Linked DNA regions of Homo sapiens: region 1 is linked to region 2. Evidence: promoter capture Hi-C in human tissues and cell types (Jung and others, 2019). All regions are on one chromosome and are shown on one strand. The core of a region is centred on a gene start or on the middle of the fragment in contact, and the rest is flanking DNA. Distances in the headings are between cores, read along the strand shown. Region 1 overlaps TSHZ2 (teashirt zinc finger homeobox 2). Region 2 holds the start of CYP24A1 (cytochrome P450 family 24 subfamily A member 1).

Evidence for each region. The method cuts DNA at HindIII sites, captures the fragments that hold promoters and counts their contacts. A contact is called where the count stands out against the background at its distance.
Region 1: a contact is called between a fragment that was not itself captured here and the fragment with the promoter of CYP24A1 in region 2, in 6 of the 25 tissues and cell types used here (H1 embryonic stem cells, heart left ventricle, lymphoblastoid cells and 3 more).

Annotation. Positions count from the first base shown.
Region 1 is chr20:53,327,960-53,331,196 of GRCh38, reverse strand. The region is part of intron 2 of TSHZ2 (teashirt zinc finger homeobox 2); the gene reads right to left. Among named protein-coding and RNA genes, the nearest start is that of TSHZ2-AS1, 170 kb to the left of the region's middle. The HindIII fragment of the contact is 3,606 bases long and covers 1-3,231 here.
Region 2 is chr20:54,172,562-54,175,586 of GRCh38, reverse strand. It overlaps CYP24A1 (cytochrome P450 family 24 subfamily A member 1), which reads left to right and starts at 1,601. Exons shown (of 12, transcript NM_000782.5): 1 at 1,601-2,265; 2 at 2,488-2,678. The coding sequence starts at 2,008. RefSeq lists an enhancer at 1,378-1,971. The HindIII fragment of the contact is 4,712 bases long and covers 1-3,025 here.

The DNA.
Region 1 (3,237 bases), core at 179-2,678, 840 kb after region 2:
AGCTTTATCACTATGCCCTACCAACTGTATTCATACTTCTCCCAAACACCTGTAACCGAGGCTCATTAGCCCAGCCTCACTCAACACAAGCAAACATTAGTACATCCAAATCCCGCATAGACACCTGGTAACTCTGTCCATATATTATAACCAGTTGGTTATAATATAATTCACAGCAGGCTGAATTCAGAGCTGGGGTGTTTCTCCCTCTTACACAGTTTGCCAGACACCCTGGCAGATTTCCTTAGCTGTTGAGGCTTGAGAACTTCATCCCACGCAAAGTGTATGATACTGAAGCCAGGCTCTTGTGGGGAAGGATCCAGAAGGAGCCTACACACTTCAGATGAAACCCAGACAGATGTCAGATAAACATATTTGAATAAACCGAACGTCACCTTTCTCTTTAATCGCTTGCTTTGGAGGGGCTGAGACTTTCTGGACCTTATCAAAGCTCTGTCATCTTTGATTCCCTGGTCACATTTCATGCACACATTTTCTGTCTTTCTTTTTCTTTTTTTAGTGTCAAGATGATGGGGATGCAGAAGAAGGAAAGTAGAGAGGATTATAAGTTTAGGAGAAAATAAAACATACAATCTCCACCTAAATGTCCTGGCTGTTATGACTTAGGAGTGACTACTGGTACAGAGGAAATAGTTCTGGTTTTCTTAGGACTGTTGGATCATATCGGACTCTTAGGAGATTCTCAGGCTGCACTAACCGTATTCACGTTTCTTTCTCTTCAGTCTGTCAATTGAAGGCTTCTCATTATTATCACTCTTAACGTTAAAGGCATTGTATTTCATACCCCTTTTATGTTTAAAAAGCCTACATATCACCTCAAATGATGGCAGGTGAACTGGTGAAATCTGAACTAGCTTTGGCTTTGTTATTGCCCTATAGTTATGCAAGCACTGGGGGAAGCTTCGGAAAGGGTGCACTGGGCTTCTTCTTACATTTCCTTGCACTTCTTATGAATCTATAATTATTTCAAGCCAAAAGGTTAAAAAAAAAGTTGAAAGACTATGTAAAAGATAAATATGTAGAGACAAAAAAGTCTAGATCAGGAGCTGGCAAACTTATTCTGGAAAGGGGCAGATAATAAAGAAATATTTTAGGCTTTGCATACCATATGGTCTCTGTAACTCTGCCATTGTATCGTGAAATTAGCCATAGATAACATGTAAACAAATGGACATGGCTGTGTTCCAATAAAACTTTATTTATAAAACAGGCAGTGGGTTGGATTTGGCCTGAGGGTTTCAGTGTATCAACCCTGATCTAGAATTTTTGTAGTAAACCTTAAAGTGTCCCAAAATGTTAGTGATACAAATTAACATTGGCCTGGCTCTGTCCTCCCTGTCTCTCTCTCTCTCTCTTTCTCTTTCTTTTCCTCCAGTGGATGCCTATTAGTTATATTATTAAAAAATAAAGTGCTTGCTGTTTTTAGCTGATTTCTTTGTTTTTAGAAAAGTTACGGAAAACTACCTAGAATATCTTCCAGATTTTGGCATTCTTCCTCTTTTTACGCCCTCCCCCGCCCCCCACAACCATTATCCATATAATTAGTCTAGACGCAAGGCCCATGTTTATGACCAAATCCCACATGTGGGTGATTTCTGGTTAATGGCTGCAGTGTGTTTACGGTCAGCTGTGCCAGTAAATGCCAGAGTCATCAGACTGATATTGATATGGAGGATCAGAAGAAAAGAGAAAGCAGGGCTTTCCGGAGTTAAATTCAGCCATAAATGGTTTTCGATGCTAGATCACAGAAATACAGTCCTGGGGTCTGTGTATAATCACCGCCCCCATACATCCTGCTTTGTAGGAAGCAAAGAGAAGACAGACTCTTTTAGTTTTAAGTTAATTTTGTGATTAACAGGGTACAATGAAGGTGCTTCCCAAAGCTTTGAGTTGAGGACCAAGAATTGAAACTTATAATGCTGGATTCCTGCCTCCAGCCCTGCTCTAGACAAAACAGTCTCGACAGACAGTTGCCTCTCCGGTTTTTAAAGTTCAACAGGAAAGGAGACAGAAGTTGAAGTTCTTTGGCAAATGCATTCGAGTGATGAGAAACATTCCTGGTTTATATTAAGCTTGAAACCCTTCCGATGGCAATAGTCAGACCTTGAATTTATGGTAGAACCTGATTTTCTAGTAGAAATGTTACTTGCCTGGGTGATACATTCTTGGCTAAAGTCCTGAAGCTTAACATTTTCTAGAAATTATCTATAATGATGTATTTAATTGCTGATTCAATTAACTATTCACACCCTGCCACTGGTGGATATAACATTTCTAAAGTATCTATCAAGCAGGCCAGGGTTATGGCTTTAAACATGCAATTAAAAAAATTGATATTCCACCTTTAGCTACAAAAAGATTTAAGGTGATATATAATGGAAATAAATAAAAAAAGCTTAAAAAGGAGGATAAAGCAAATATCTTAATGATAAAAATTAGAATGGCTACTGTGATTAACCATTCACTTCGTATATGAGCTTCCTGGCAACCACTGGGAAAAAGGAACAATATAATTTTTAATGCTCTTATGATTAGAATAGAAAGATGCTAATTCCTCATCAAATTAGACAAGAAAATGCTTTGCTACTGATTCTGTATGTTGAATAATCAATTATCAATGGCTTATCAATATTCAATCATTTATTGGCTAGTGCACAGATGTTCCGGACGGTTCACATCACTGTTTCTGATCAGCATTGCAGAGAGGACAAATTACTATGCCTCTATAATGTGAGTAGCTCAGGAATAAAGAGTCCAAATTACAAATGATAAGTCTGTAAATGCTGAGATTCCAACTACTTACAAACAGAGTTGGATTTATACATATCCTGCTGCTTGCACAGTGCTGCATGTACGATTTCCACGACCTTCTCAATTTCCAGTATTTTCCAGAATAGGCTCTATTTCAAATATTTCTGTTTATGCAGATATTTTATAAAATACAGCACAGATGAAGCATGCTGGGAGTTACATGCAATCTTGGAAATTTAGCAATCTCGGCACACATTTCCTCCTACTGGTCATGATGGAAGAGTGTGTTGGACTCTAAGGGTGAGCACCATTGTCAGGTTTATCGTCCCTCAATGTATAACCAGCACACATCCCAGCCCCCTGCTTTAAATGACTCCCAAGGCTTCACTTTGCATATCTTTACCAAGGGTCAGGCCCTGGTTGGCCTCTTCCCACTTGCTTCCAAATTCACAAGTCTGCAGTCAC
Region 2 (3,025 bases), core at 352-2,851:
ACATTGGGCTGAGATGAGAACTAAACGGAAAAAATGATGTAAAATGTCTAGCTCAGTGCCTGACTTATCATAAGCCCTAGAAAGCTTTCATGAGAATATTATATAACATATGGAATCTACATACTGTATGCAATCTATACTATATTATGTATATTTAGTGTGTATTGCATATAACATAATCTATAGTGTATGCTGTAACATATATACCATACAATGTATATATAAATATGTACAAGATTCATAAAGTTTAGTATATATCAATAGCTATTATTTTTATTAACATAAACAGTCATTAGCCCCTCCAGACAAATCAGAAATGATGGTGTTAAAGCTTAAGTTGGACTGCAAAAGATTTTTAAGAAACAAACTAGAGGCTTACAAAAGAATTTACCAGGGAAGGATTTGCCAACACTTGGGGCAAAAATGACTGAGACACGTAATTGAAAAGCAGGGCGAGGAAACAGAATGTCCCTCCCCTCCTCCCTGGCTGGTGGTAGTTTTGTATTGGATCAGGTTGAAAGGATTCGAGCCACTTTAAAACAATCAACAAAAATCTCCAACTTCCGTTCCTGAATTAGCAAAGCGAGTTCTACTCTTGCCAGCCGCGGTAACTCTAGAAATTGTGTATGTTTGTCACTGGACCTGCCTAGGACGCACCTTGGGGGAGAGGGGGAGTACTGGGGGCGGTGGTTTCAAGCTCTGTGTGCCCCTCCTTTGCACAAGGTAGTCGGTGTAGAAGAACAGAGGCGGGCAGTGGACATAGGGGAGGTGGCCCAGCCTGAATTCAAGCATCGTTGGTGCAAGCCACGCTCTCAAGGCGCATTTCCTAACTTCCTAAAGAAGTAACAACAGCAACTAACTTTTATTGACTGTTGACTATAGACAAGGCTTCGTTGTTGCCGCTTTACGTGCATTAATTCATTTAATCTGCAAAACAACCAAACATGAAACAGCAGGAAGGAAATTCTACAAACTCCCCTTCTTGCTCAAGTTAAGAAAGTCTCCTCTTCTGGTGCATTTCAGTAAGACTCAAATCCTCCCCACCCTGGGAGGCGCAGAAAGCCAAACTTCCTCCAAAAAAAAAAAGGCAAAAAAAAAAAAAAAATCACTTCAGTCCAGGCTGGGGGTATCTGGCTCCCCGGGAGGCGCCCGGGCTCCCCGGGGCCCTGGCAGACGCCGGCAGCTTTTCTGGGCCCGCACTCGGGGACCTCGCCCGCCCGGCATCGCGATTGTGCAAGCGCCGGGCGGCAACCACGGCCGCCGCTGCCGGCTCCTGCCCGCCGGGGGAGGGCGGGGAGGCGCGTTCGAAGCACACCCGGTGAACTCCGGGCTTCGCATGACTTCCTGGGGGTTATCTCCGGGGTGGAGTCTGCCGCCCCCACCCCACCTCCCGCGCCCAGCGAACATAGCCCCGGTCACCCCAGGCCCGGACGCCCTCGCTCACCTCGCTGACTCCATCCTCCTTCCACCCCCCCTCCCCTGGGTCCCGCGTCCCTCGGAGTCTGGCCAGCCGGGGGCCACTCCGCCCTCCTCTGCGTGCTCATTGGCCACCCAGGGCATGCTCTGTCTCCATAAATGCATGGTCCCTGGGCATAGGAACATGGAGAGGGACAGGAGGAAACGCAGCGCCAGCAGCATCTCATCTACCCTCCTTGACACCTCCCCGTGGCTCCAGCCAGACCCTAGAGGTCAGCCTTGCGGACCAACAGGAGGACTCCCAGCTTTCCCTTTTCAAGAGGTCCCCAGACACCGGCCACCCTCTTCCAGCCCCTGCGGCCAGTGCAAGGAGGCACCAATGCTCTGAGGCTGTCGCGTGGTGCAGCGTCGAGCATCCTCGCCGAGGTCCTTTCTGCTGCCTGTCCCGCCTCACCCCGCTCCATCACACCAGCTGGCCCTCTTTGCTTCCTTTTCCCAGAATCGTTAAGCCCCGACTCCCACTAGCACCTCGTACCAACCTCGCCCCACCCCATCCTCCTGCCTTCCCGCGCTCCGGTGTCCCCCGCTGCCATGAGCTCCCCCATCAGCAAGAGCCGCTCGCTTGCCGCCTTCCTGCAGCAGCTGCGCAGTCCGAGGCAGCCCCCGAGACTGGTGACATCTACGGCGTACACGTCCCCTCAGCCGCGAGAGGTGCCAGTCTGCCCGCTGACAGCTGGTGGCGAGACTCAGAACGCGGCCGCCCTGCCGGGCCCCACCAGCTGGCCACTGCTGGGCAGCCTGCTGCAGATTCTCTGGAAAGGGGGTCTCAAGAAACAGCACGACACCCTGGTAAACCCCTTTTCGCGCCCCTGACTCTCTCCTCCCTCTTCCGCCCTCCCAGTGGCGCTCCAAACCCTCCCCGACATGCGCGCCTCGGGCGCATGGTGCGCTTCGGCGTCTGGGCAGGGAGGGTCCCCGGTCCCCTAGGAGGAAGGAGGCGGGAGGAGGGAAAGCGCTTCGGGCACGGCGGAGGATGCGCGCTGACACCGCGCTGTGCCCGGCCGGCTGCAGGTGGAGTACCACAAGAAGTATGGCAAGATTTTCCGCATGAAGTTGGGTTCCTTTGAGTCGGTGCACCTGGGCTCGCCATGCCTGCTGGAAGCGCTGTACCGCACCGAGAGCGCGTACCCGCAGCGGCTGGAGATCAAACCGTGGAAGGCCTATCGCGACTACCGCAAAGAAGGCTACGGGCTGCTGATCCTGTGAGTCCAATCCGAGGGACCTGGGCATGCGGCCAGACCTGATGAGCCTGACGGCGCCTGGAAATTGTGAAGAGGCGGAGTTAGAGTTCCCTGGGGTTGGAAGCTTCTTACGTAGGGCGGATACCAAAGCCCCTCTCCCGTGCCATCGCAACCCTGAGCTCTTGTACAGATTAGAGTCGGTCCACGGAAAAGCCGTGCTGTGCACCCAGCACCTGCGTTCTCTCTGGCAACAGGGCAGGGCCACACCCTCCCATCAAAGAAACGCCAAAACAGGGTTGTACCAACTGTGGTGTTCAGACTCTTGGGCAGGATGAGGTTCTGAAGTCAGCGTACCAGGCAAACATCTT